Linked DNA regions of Homo sapiens: all the other regions are linked to region 1. Evidence: promoter capture Hi-C in 16 types of primary human blood cells and fetal thymus (Javierre and others, 2016). All regions are on one chromosome and are shown on one strand. The core of a region is centred on a gene start or on the middle of the fragment in contact, and the rest is flanking DNA. Distances in the headings are between cores, read along the strand shown. Region 1 holds the start of TDRD12 (tudor domain containing 12). Region 2 holds the start of SLC7A9 (solute carrier family 7 member 9). Region 3 overlaps CEP89 (centrosomal protein 89). Region 4 overlaps CEP89 (centrosomal protein 89).

The links. The method cuts DNA at HindIII sites, captures the fragments that hold promoters and counts their contacts. A CHiCAGO score of 5 or more calls a contact.
Region 2: a fragment that was not itself captured here is called in contact with the fragment with the promoter of TDRD12 in region 1 in 1 of 17 cell types (non-activated CD4 T cells); the score reaches 5.3 in non-activated CD4 T cells.
Region 3: a contact is called between a fragment that was not itself captured here and the fragment with the promoter of TDRD12 in region 1, in 1 of 17 cell types (naive CD4 T cells). The highest score is 5.0, in naive CD4 T cells.
Region 4: a contact is called between a fragment that was not itself captured here and the fragment with the promoter of TDRD12 in region 1, in 2 of 17 cell types (non-activated CD4 T cells and naive CD4 T cells). The highest score is 5.8, in non-activated CD4 T cells.

The regions. Positions count from the first base shown.
Region 1 is chr19:32,718,212-32,721,244 of GRCh38, forward strand. It overlaps TDRD12 (tudor domain containing 12), which reads left to right and starts at 1,556. Exons shown (of 33, transcript NM_001366102.1): 1 at 1,556-1,885. The coding sequence starts at 1,862. The HindIII fragment of the contact is 20,000 bases long and covers 1-3,033 here.
Region 2 is chr19:32,869,763-32,872,794 of GRCh38, forward strand. It overlaps SLC7A9 (solute carrier family 7 member 9), which reads right to left and starts at 5. Exons shown (of 13, transcript NM_014270.5): 1 at 1-5. RefSeq lists enhancers at 310-832, 833-1,355. The HindIII fragment of the contact is 3,371 bases long and covers 98-3,032 here.
Region 3 is chr19:32,949,546-32,952,530 of GRCh38, forward strand. All of the region lies in intron 4 of CEP89 (centrosomal protein 89), which reads right to left. Among named protein-coding and RNA genes, the nearest start is that of CEP89, 21 kb to the right of the region's middle. The HindIII fragment of the contact is 1,731 bases long and covers 617-2,347 here.
Region 4 is chr19:32,902,697-32,905,935 of GRCh38, forward strand. The region is part of intron 14 of CEP89 (centrosomal protein 89); the gene reads right to left. Among named protein-coding and RNA genes, the nearest start is that of SLC7A9, 35 kb to the left of the region's middle. The HindIII fragment of the contact is 657 bases long and covers 1,145-1,801 here.

The sequences.
Region 1 (3,033 bases), core at 306-2,805:
TTCACCTTGCCCGCTGCCTAGACAGAGCCAATTTATCAAGACAGGGAATTGCAATGGAGAAAGAGTAATTCACGCAGAGCCGGCTGTGTGGGAGACTGGAGTTTTATTATTACTCAAATCAGTCTCTCCGAGCATTTGAGGAACAGAGTTTTTAAAGACAATTGGGCGGGTAGGAGCTTGGGAAGTGGGGAGTGCTGATTGGCCAGGTTGAAGATGGAATCAGAGGTTGTTGGAGTTTTTCTTGCTATTTACTCTTCCTGGTTGGTTTGGCAGAACTGGTTGAGGCAGATTATCGGTGTGGGTGGTGTCAGCTGATCCACTGAGCTGATTCAAGGATTGTTGTCTCATGCCTCCCTAAAATGTAAAAGACCAAGTGAGGCAGGAAAATAGGGTCTGGAGGTAGGGAACATAAGGCCGATTCACGCTTCAGCTATAAGGGGAAATACCCTCTCCATAGGGCATACACCGAGTAAATGACTTCGTAACTTTACTTCACCGTCTTCATTTACATCGGGCGTACCCCAAGCAGAAGGTATTTAAATTCACAGAAATTCTGCCGGGCCTTTGAGTCCCTGTGTTCAGGCCTGCTCCCACACTGTGGAGTGTACTTTTTCAATAAAACCCTTCATTCCTTCCTTGCTTTGTGTGTGCCTTTTGTCAAATTCTTTCTTCAAGACACCAAGAACCTGGACACCCTCCAACTTTAACACAAGCTGTGCCTCGACCACGTCTAGCAAATGTCGTTAGGACTTCCTGTGTCAGGGGCGCCTGTCCTCAACCTTGGCAAAATTTTTTGTTTTGTTTTGTTTTTTGAGACAGAGTCTCACTCTGTCGCCCAGGCTGGGGTGCAGTGGCCTGATCTCAGCTCACTGAAACCTCTGCCTCCCGGGTTCAAGCGATTCTCCTGTCTCAGCCTCCCAAGTAGCTGGGATTAGAGGCGCTCCCCACCATGCCAGGCTAATTTTTCTATTTTTAGTAGAGACGGGGTTTCACCATGTCGAGGATGCTAGTCTCCAACTCCTAACCTTATCAGGTGATCCGCACCCCTCGCCTCCCAAAGCGCTGGGATTACAGGCCTGAGCCACCTCGCTCTGCTGGCCAAATAAACTTTCTAAATGAACTGAGACCTATCTCACATTTTCAGGATTCACAGGCTCTTATCAATTTTGTTTCAGAGTCAAACCATGGACTGAATTCCTTCCCAAGGTTAGTTGGGCTTCCGCCCAGGAATAAACAAGGACAGCTTAAAGGTTAGAGGCAAGATGGAGTTGATTAGGTCTGATTTCTTTCACCATCACAATTTCCTCAGTTACAATTTTGCAAAGGTGGTTTCCAACGGACTCAGCCGCACGCGGCCCCTCTGTCCCTCCGGGGGACAGGCGAGTGTCCCTGGGGCCTGCAGGGCAGTCCTGCTGGCTGCAAAAGAGAGAATCACGCGACCCCTAGCCGGGCCTCCCAGGGCCTCCGCGCGTCAGTCCTCCTGGCCACCGCGTGGCGCTGTGCCTTACGTTGTTGGGCCGTTGGGTGGACCACGTGGTCTCCGACGCCTCAAGGCCTGCTCAGCGTGCGCGGGCATCCGGTGGGTGCGGGAGGCCCGAGGCCAGGCAGGCAGGGATCCCGCAGCGAGGGGCTGGTTACTGCCAGGACGGAGCGCATTGCCTCGAGCCGACCCCGGGGTCCGCGAGGGCTCCTGGGGACGAGGAGTGTGGGGCACCTGCCGCGGGGGGCCCAGGCGCTAAAGGTGGAGGGAAGGAACGCACTCGCGGCGGGGGCCTGGCCGGGGCGGACGCAGCCAGCCTCACCCGCGACGGTAGGGGACTTCCAGGGCGAGGGGGCCCATCTGCCCTCGGGCGCCAGGAGGATGCTCCAGCTCCTGGTGCTGAAGGTGAGCGCCGCCAAGCCAGACCCACGCCAGACCCACGCAGTCCCCCACCCCCACCCCAGCCGCGCACAGCCTCCCACCCCCACCCCAGCTCCGCACAGCTTCCTACACCCACCGCAGCCCCGCACAGCCTCCCACCCCCGACCCCAACCCTACACAGCCCCCACCCCTCCCCCCATCCCAGCCTCCACATCCCTCCACACCCACTCCTCCCAGCCCACGCATCCCCCCCATGTCCACTCCCTCTCAGCCCACACCTACTCCCCACGCCCACTCCTCCCCCAACCCACACATCCTCCCACACCCACTCCCACCCAGCTCCACCCCCACACTCACACATGCCCCCACCCCATCTCACTGCTGCACACTCCATCCCACTCCCACACATCCCAACCCCGTATATCCCATGCCGCCACACCACGCCCCCACTCCCACCCCACTCCCACCCCAACCCATCCCACTCCCAACCCCACACACCCCCAACTCCTACCCTAGCCCCAGCTCCCACCCGTTTCCTTATCGCTGCCCACCCCACAGTCACACCCTCGCCCCTGTCCCCACCCCATCCTTATTCCCACCGCCCCCACTCACACCTCCACCCCAACATTTCATCCCCCCACACTCAGCCCCACACACCCCACCACCACCCCATCTCCACTCCCACCTGCACCCCAGCCGCAGCCCACCCCACCTCCACTCCAACCCCACCCCGCCCTCCCCCACCTGAACCCTCCCTGCGCCCCCACCAGGGGGCACCCCGGGCTGGGAGCTGGGGTAGAACCCGGATGAGCCCGGGTTTCACGGGCCCTGGCGTGCTCCGGGATGCACCTGGAGGAGCGCGGAATTGGTTGCTCCTCCGAATGCTCGATCACCCGGGCCAAGCGACACTGGCGTCCCCAGGGCCCCGCTCTCCGTACTCCACGGGGCCCTTAGGCTCGGCGCCTGGACAGGGTCGGGTGGCCCGGGCAGCCCCAGCCCATGGGTCCGGGCTTCCCTCATGCCCCCAGTCTCTGTTGCCCTATCCGCTCACCGCGTGGGCTCTGCGTGGGCGTTGTTCTAGTCCTCGGGGAAGGGACGCCCGCCTGGACCCTTGCTTTTCCCCCTTGGAGTCCAGTGAGGGCTCATTGGTGAAGGGGAAAGCGTTGCTGGAG
Region 2 (3,032 bases), core at 533-3,032, 150 kb after region 1:
ATGGCCATGTCTTGTGCCCAGGAGCAAAGGAAGTCCAGAAGGTACAGAGGTCAATAAGGGTAATTATTAAACACCTTTTTTTTTTTTTTTGCAATGAAGCTTAGATACGCCACACAAAAAAGGGGAGGGTCAGGAACACCAATTTCTCTCCAAAACCGTTTTTGTTTTGTTCATTTGTGTCTAGGTCAGATTATTTTTTTAAAACCAGATGGTCCCAAATCGTCTACACTTTTTACCTAAAGATAAAATAAATTATGCCTTCTTTTATCTTTGGGAATCAGAGGAGATAAACTTTGGAACCAATTCGCTAATTGCCTTAATAGGCTATATTTAAAACCCAAGTCAGGCAGCTCAAACAGGAACCGCTGTGTGTGCGTAACTCAGCTGTTGGTCAGTTTCCTCCCCGCCCAGGAATTTCCCCCAAGCCAAGGGCCTGCCTCTGGCTGAGCAGGTGAGAGCGGCTGAGCCCGTCCCACTCCTCTTTACCAGTGATGGGGCTTCACCACTTGGAATCACAAGCAGGCCTGAGGCAATGCAGGGCCTCGTGTCCTCCCTGCAGCTGCGGCCAAATGCCCATCAGGTTTGGCTGTGGTGCTGTTCACGTAGCCATGTCCTGGCTCATCACAAGGGACACAAAACCTTCCCCTTCGGGGAAACGGAGGGGGACAGGCAACACAAGGCCAGGAAGCTCCGGTCCGCATCCAGGGCTGCCAGGGTCTGGATCTCTCTGGGAGGGAGCAGAGGTTCTCCCGCACTGCGATTGGACCTAGGCTCAGGCGGCAGCCTCAGGGGTCAGCACGAAGCCCTTTCAGATAGGGAAGGAAGCACCTTATGAGACCTTATGAGACAGCCTGGCACAGCATAAGCACTGCATCTGAAGCATCGTAGCTGTTACCTTCAGCCAAAACTCTGGTAGCTTTGCCTTGGGCCAAACTTAACTGCATCCCAGATATCAGATGGAAGCAAAGGTCAGGGATGGAAGGAGCTGGGCCAGTCTCTGGGGGTCAGTTTGGGAGCAGTTTGGGGCAAGCAGACCTGAGAGAGGCACAGGTTTCTCTGAAAGCCGTCTGCAGAGCACAGGGACCCTTGTTGTCCCAGAGGCACGGTCCTGATTTAGAAGTTCGTCACCTCCCATCTTGGGAGGGCCCACCTGTTTACCTGCCTGCCATGCCCAGAGCCCTGAGCAGAGAGGCTAGTGGCAGGTCCTGCCACCCTAGACAGAACCTGCCCACCGGCTTGCTGGGGTCACTCCTCCTAATGTTGCAGCACTCATCATAGTACCTGGCACATCCATGTTTGCAAAACACCACAGAATACCCCCTGGGTCAAAAGTGCTCCTGGCAGGCTGACAGGAGACCACGTGAGGACATCAGGGTGGGGCAGTGGTCCCCCGCTGGGGCCAGACAGCCCTGCAACCTCACCCACTACCCACATGGGCTCAGGCAGCACTGCCAGGATCAGGGTCTGAACCTGCGACGCAGGGCGAGCAACAGGCGCCTCCTCACGGAACACACTGAACTTGCATGTTCCATGAATGTCCGGGACCAGCCCTCTGGTCTTCCTGGGCCTCTTCCAAGTGCCGAGTCTGGAACATCGGGATGTGAGGGTCCTTTGTTAAGTCAGAAACCTCCACTTCAGTTCATTTTGGGTCCACGGTGAGCATTTCTTAAGCCTGTTTCTTAAAGTTGTGTTTTTCACCGCAGTCCCACCCTCTCCCTCCCTTGAATACACAGAAAGTATTCAAGTAATTCTCATAAGCTCTTCCTCATGGAAAATAATACGGATTTCATTTAAAAAGCAAAATTTTCCTCAGTTCTTGAAGACCATTGGTTCATTGTGTATCCAGTGCTTCTGCCATGTGACTGAAGTTTCACCTCCCTGCTGTCAATTTTTTTTTTTTTAGATGGAGCCTCACTCTGTCGCCCAGGCTGGAGTGCAGTGGCACGATCTCAGCTCACTGCAACCTCTGCCTCCTGGGTTCAAGTGATTCTCCTGTCTCAGCCTCCTGAGTAGCTGGGATTACAGGCATCCACCACCATGCCTGGCTAATTTTTGTATTTTTAGTAGAGATGGGGTTTCACCATGTTGGCCAGGTTGGTCTTGAACTCCTGACCTCAAGTGATCCACCTGCCTCGGCCTCCCAAAGCGCAAATCCTACTGTCATTTTTACCATTTTATTTATTTATTTTTGAGACTTGCTGTGTCACCCAGGCTGGAGTGCAGTGTCATGATCTCAGCTCACTGCAACCTCCGCCTCCCAGGTTCAAGCGATTCTCCTCCCTCAGCCTCCCGAGTAGCTGGTACTACATGTGTGACAATATACCCGGCTAATTTTTGTATTTTTAGTAGAGACAGGGTTTCATCATGTTGGCCAGGCTGATCTTGAACTCCTGACCTCAAGTAATCCACCCGCTTCAGCCTCCCAAAGTGCTGGGATTACAGGTGTGAGCCACCACACCCGCCCAACCACTCTATTTCTTAAGTTTCTGCTAAAGACTCTTGACCTTCATTTTCAACCCGTGCTTTTTCCCTTCCGATTGCAAAAATGCTTGCAGTGTGAAGATCTTCACACCATCTACATTTTATCTTATATTTGGTGCACATTTGATTTCAGTTGGGGAGGGTAAAATGCTTCTCTCCACCCTTTTGGGTTCTTTGGTTGGGCTTCGAATTGAGACTAATGGGAGGAAAACTGTTTTAATTATGTGTATATGCAACTGAGTCCCACAAAACAAGAGACTTGAAGAAGGGCCAGATGACTAAACCCTATATAGCATCCTGAGCTATATAAGGATTAGGGGCTTGGGGCTTCTGGGGCAGGTAGGGACTAGTAATGGGATGGTGAGGGGAGGAAATGCATGGCGAATAAAGGTCGTCTTGTTATGCAGATATAAGTCTCTCAGGTAATAAAAGTTGTCTCTTCCTGGTACAGATACTTGTACTAATGTAGATTTCCTTCATGACATACATTTCTTTTGCAAAGGGCAGCTTTTCAGAGCTACACCTGTTGTGTCTGCAGTTTCTCAGAATAA
Region 3 (2,985 bases), core at 232-2,731, 230 kb after region 1:
GCTAATTTTTAAATTTTTTGTAGAGATGGGGTCTCAGTATGTTGTCCAGGCTGGTCTTGAACTTCTGGCCTCAAGTGATCCTCCTGCCTTGGCCTCCCAAAGGGCTGTGATTACAGGCATGAGCCACTGCACTCGACCTGAACCAGTTGTTACATGGTAAACTGTGACTGGCGCTGTCTGGGTGGGCTGCCCTTTGGCTCTCCTGATTCTTCAGTAAAATCTTGCTTTTGTGATCAGTTTGGCTTAGCTGGGCTGCACTGCAGGCAATGGAAGGGCTGTCCCTGGGGCTGACAAGGAGGTGGTGGCAGGGACTAGCAAGACGCCCATGAGAAGGGGCATTTCAGAGTAAGAGCTAAGGCTGCTACGTCCACCTGTCTCTGTGGACATGGTTCCAAGATGACCTGGCTCAAGAGAAGCAAACAGGTCTCCCAAGATACTCATCATTTGAAGAAAGAAAAAGTAAATGGCCCCGTACTTTTTTTTTTTTTTAATACAGACAGGATCTCACTATGGTGTCCAGGCCAGTCTTGAACTCTTGTCCTCAAATGATCCTCCCACCTCCACCTCCCAAAGTGGTGGGATTATAGGTGTGAGCCACCACGCAAGGCCGACCTCAAGCTTTTTTATCTCCCAGGAACAAACTTCCTTGTTCAACCTGTCAAAAATATATTAAGTGACTCACTATTCTCAAGGAAATGTGAAATAGGTAAGATGACTTAAAAAGCATTAGGGGCCAGGTATGGTGGCTCACATCTATAATCCCAGCACTTTGGGAGGCTAAGGCAGGCGGATCACCTGAAGTCGGGAGTTCAAGACCAGCCTGATCAACATGGAGAAACCTTGTCTCTACTAAAAATATAAAATTAGCCAGGTGTGGTGGCACATGCCTGTAATCCCAGCTACTCAGGAGGCTGAGGCAGGAGAATTGCTTGAACCCAGGAGGCGGAGGTTGCAGTGAGCAGAAATCGTGCCATTGCACTCCAGCCTGTGCAATAAGAGTGAAACTCTGCCCCCTTCACCCCCACAAAAAAAGCATTAAGAAGATGCTCAATATGGACAATCGTTTGGCAGTATCTACTGGTACTAAAGCTGATGGTACATATACCCTATGACCATACACATACCATTCCTCAGTATATACCCACCAGAAATACACAAATATGTACATCAAGGGACACATCGCCAAATGTTCACAGCAGCACTATTCCTAAGAGTCCCAAACTGGAACCAATTAAGTCTCTGTCATCAGTAAAATGAATAACTGAGTGGCACGGTTGTACAGTAAAATATACAGCAATGAGAACAAACCCGCCCCTGCTATACACAATAACTGAAGACTCCCAAACTCCAAATAATGCATATCGTCTAATTAAATGCATGTAAATTTTCAGAACAGGCAAAGCTAATCTCAGGTTATTTTTAAAGATTAAAGCTAATCTTGGCAATGGTTAACTCTGTGGGAAGTAGTGACTAAGAAGAAGGGTGATTTCTAGGGTACAAGTAATTTTTTTTTAATCTGAGTGGTGGCTACTTTTTGAAAATGTATCGAAATGTGCACTTATGATTTACTCACTTCTTGTGCATATTTTATATATCAATAAATAAGTCTACTAAAAACATACCTTCATAAAGAATTTGTGATACTTTATATAAACATACTTTAAAAGGCTTGGCTGGGCGCAATGGCTCACGCCAGTAATCCCAACACTTTGGGAGGATCACCTGAGGTCAGGAGTTCGAGACCATCCTGGCCAACATGATGAAACCCAATCTCTACTAAAAATACAAAAATTTGCTGGGCATGGTGGCGGGCACCTGTAGTCCCAGCTACTTGGGAGGCTGAGGCAGGAGAATCACTTGAACCCAGGAGGCGGAGGTTGCAGTGAACCAAGATTGCACCACTACATTCCAGCCTGGGCGACAGAGCAAGACTCTGTCTCAAAAGAAATAAACAACAACAAAAAATTATATATATATATATATATATATACACACACACACACACACACACACACACACACGCACACTACTACAGTTGTTTACTTAAACTTGTAGTAAAAGAATAAAAACACAAACTTCCAGGATGCACTCCAAATCCAAGAAAAGATGAGTTTCCAAGGAGGGAGTGGGGTTAGGGGACAAGGCAACATCTACCCTAATGGTAACATTTTATTATTTATTATTTTCTACTTTTCACATGTTAAAATTTAAAAATTTTCCTACTACACATGGCTCCTAAAGCCACCCTAACAGACTTGCCTAAAAAAACAAAATATCTGTCCTTCTAGCAAGGAAAGAGTCTCTGTAGGTCACTGTATCTCTTTCTTCCAAGGGAAATATTGTAGTAAGCTTTCCCTCTAGAACAGTGGAGAGATATGACTCTATGTGTAACATCGGTACAAAATAACCAGCCGGCAAGTGTGCGGGTGAGGAGCAGTGGGACTGATTCTGAGCCCTGCAGAGCTCGACAGGAGCACAGTTGTCCATATTGAGCTCTGGGCAGTGTCTGCCTATTCCAGAGCTGCTTGCTATGAGAAGCCTAATTCTATGTGTGAAAGTCTGTATATGTGGGAAAATGATGGTGAGTTCATGAAACAGCCACATAAGGATCCCTCAAAATAAGCTCCTGAAGACCATTTAAAATGTATTTTAGGGCCAGGGGCGTTGGCTTATGCCTGTAATCCCAACACTTTGGGAGCCCGAAGCAAGAGGATTGCTTAAGCCCAGGAGTTCAAGGCCAGTCTGGCTAACATAACAAGACCCTGGCCCTATAGAAAAAAAAAAAAAAAGCCAGTTGTGGTGCCGCGTGCCTAAAGCCCCAGCTACTCGGGAGGCTGAGGTGGGAGGATCACTTGAGCCCAGGAGGAGGTGGCTATAATGAGCTAGGATCGTGCCACTGCACTCCAGCCTGGGGACAGTGAGACCCCATCTCAATTTAAAAAAAAAAAAGTGTTTTAATATAGTAGGGGCTAATTAATATACATA
Region 4 (3,239 bases), core at 223-2,722, 180 kb after region 1:
AAGGTCAAGGCAGCTGGAATTTCCAGGGCAGGGCAGAGGGCGTTTCACGGAGCGAGAAAGGGCTCTAGAGACCTTGAAGGGTCTTTGGCTGGGTACTGATCTGTCCGTGTGTGAGAGGAAACTGCGTAAAGCCTAGGAAAGAAACACTACAAACAGTAGGCAGAACAATTTCTGACATGCACAAAGAACAGGAAATAGTTCATACCCCACCAGTCAGAATGGAAAGGCCTTATAATAAAAGAGATATTGGATAGAATCCTTAGAAGAGTGTTACTGTCTTAGCAGTGGGGCTAACTTAGCCCTAAGACTAGAGGTTGCTTTGGGCCCACCCTAACAAAAATCAGCTTTGAAAGAATCCAGCTTAGCCACATGCGGTGGCTCACACCTGTAATCCCAGCACTTTGGGAGGCTGAGGTGGGAGGATCCCTTGAGCCCAGGACCTCAAAACCAGCCTGGGCAACATAACAAGACCCTGTTTCTACAAAAAGAAAAAAAAAAAGAAAACAGAAAAGAAAGTAAACAAATAAATAAATAATCCAACAATTCTCTAGTGGCTTAAGTGTGCACCAGAATGAAATCTAACACTATTTAAAGCAATGCAATATGTCTAACATCCTGTAACATAAAATCTACACCATCCAGCACCCAATCAAGCATGAGAATAAGCAATAAAATATGATCCATGATCAGGAGGGGAAAAAATCAACAGAACAGATTCAGAAGTGAGAGAGATGATGGCGTTGGCAAACAAAGGTTTTTAGAAAAACATGCTCCTACATTTGAGAAAGAAGAGAAAAATAGCATGCTGGGGACAGAGACGGAGAATACAAAAAAGACTCAAATGGATCTTTCTTACAGAGATGGGAAAAATCATTACACAAAGTGAACAATATATTGGATGGGACTAACAGCAGATTAGATTGTAGAAGGATAGATTTGTGAAGTTGAAGAGAGATAGTAATAGACACTGTCTGATTGAAGCCCAGAGAGAAACAAGTGTGGGCTAAAAGTGAACAGAACAGTCAACAGGACAACATCAAGCAGTCCAGGAGAGGTGAGAGGGAAAAACAGAAGAGACCGTTCAAGAAATAATAGCCAAAAGATTTCCAAACTTGATGAAAAATACACACTGATAGCCCCAAGAAGCTTAATGAACTTCATGTAGAGTAAAGAAACCATGCTGGCCGGGTGTGGGGTCCCCCACTGTAATCCCAGCACTTTGGAAGGCCAAGGCAGGAGGCTCCCTCAAGGCCAGGAGTTTGAGACCAGCCTGGGCAACGTAACAAGACTCTGTCTCTACAAAAGATTTAAAAATTAGCCGGGAGCAGTGGCACATGCCTGTAGTCCCAGCTACTCGAGAGGCTGAGGCAGGAGGATCACTTGAGCCCAGGAGGTCAAGGCTGGAGCAAGCAGTGATTGCACCACTGCACTCCAGCCTGTCCAACAGAGCCAGACCCTGTGCAAAAAAGGGTCTGAAAGAAAGAAAGAAACCATGCTAAGGCATATCCCAATTAAAATGCTGAAAAACAGTGACAATGAAAAATTCTTAAAAGAAGCCTCAGAGAAAACACACGTTATCTTCAGAAGAATACAGATAACCGTGACAGCAGATTTTCATCATAAACGACGCAAGCCAAAAGACTATCAACAGCCAGCATCTTTAAAACTGAATGGAAAAAAACCCACAAACTACCAAAAACCTGTCAGCTTGGAATTCTTCACCCAGTGAAATCATGTAATCAATAAAGTTTCATAATTTTCCCAACGGAAGTACTGTAAATCTTTCCACATCTATTTGTGAAGCTTTGTCGATGGTTCCTTCCTTTTAATTAAAAAAATTTTTTCTCATGATGATAGCCTATCATTACCTTAGTTTTCAAAATATCATTTTCTTTCTTCCTTTTTTTTTTTTTTGAGATGGAGTCTCACTCTGTCACCAGGCTGGAATGCAGTGGCGCCACCTCCACTCACTGCAACCTCCGCCTCCCAGGTTCAAGCGGTTCTCCTGCCTCAGCCTCCCAAGTAGCTGGGACTACAGGCATGCGCCATCACACCCAGCGAATTTTTGTATTTTTAGTAGAGATGGGGTTTCACCCTGTTAGCCAGGATGGTCTCGATCTCTTGACTTCATGATCCACCTGCCTCAGCCTCCCAAAGTGCTGGGATTACAGGTGTAAGCCACCAGGCCTGGCCCAAAATACCATTTTCTACACATTTTTTTCCTACAAAGAAATACAATTAATTTTTATAAATTTTCTGTTTTGAACAATTTTGCTAAAACCTCTTATTTTTAATGATTTGTAGATTTGTTTTCTACAGATAGAATTATGTCATTTATGAATAATGACACTATTGTTTTCCCTTTTCCCAAACCTTCTAAGTTTTTCATGCCACGTGTGTCAGTTACCACTTGGTAGCCAGTGCTGTTAATGTTGTCAGAAATGGTGTCAGAGGGCAACCTTGTATTGTTTCCAATCTCAATAGGAAAGCTTTCAACATTTCCCTATTTGGTGTGATCTTTATTGTAGCTGTATTTTTTAATAGAACTTTAGAATGTTAGAATTTAATAGAAGTTTTACATCTACATTCATAAGTGAAATGAAAAGTAATTTTCCTTTCTTATATGATCACTGTTGGGTTTTGGTATCAAGGTTATACTAACCTCATTAGATTAAGGAGCATTAATTCTTTTTCTGTTTCTAGAAAGGTTTATGTAAGACTGAAATTATTTCTTCCTTGAATATTTGTAGAGCTCTCTAGTGAAGGTATCCAGGCCTGGAGTTTTCAAAGGAAGATTTTTTTTTTTAATTCAATTCTTTTAATGATTATAGGACTATTCAGGTATTCTTCTTCTTCTTGAGTCAGTTTTAAGGTAAGCTTTTCAAAGAATTTGACTATTTCATCTAAATTTTCAAATGTATTGACATAAATTATTTCTAGGTGCACACAAATTTAAATTTGTGTGAATTCTACTTGGTAAATTGAGCCTTTTATCTTTGTGAATCATCCTCTTTGCTTAGTATTGTTGTCTGTTCTGTTTGAGACAGGGTCTCACTCTGTTGCCCAGGCTAGAGTACAGTGGTGCAATCACTGCTCAGTGCAGCTTCAAACTCCTGGGCTCAAGTCATCCTCCTGCCTCAGCCTCCTGATTAGCTGGGATTACAGACGGTAAGCCATCACACCCAGTTAGTTTTTAAATTTATGGCAGAGACAAGGTCTCCCTATGTTACCCAGGCTGG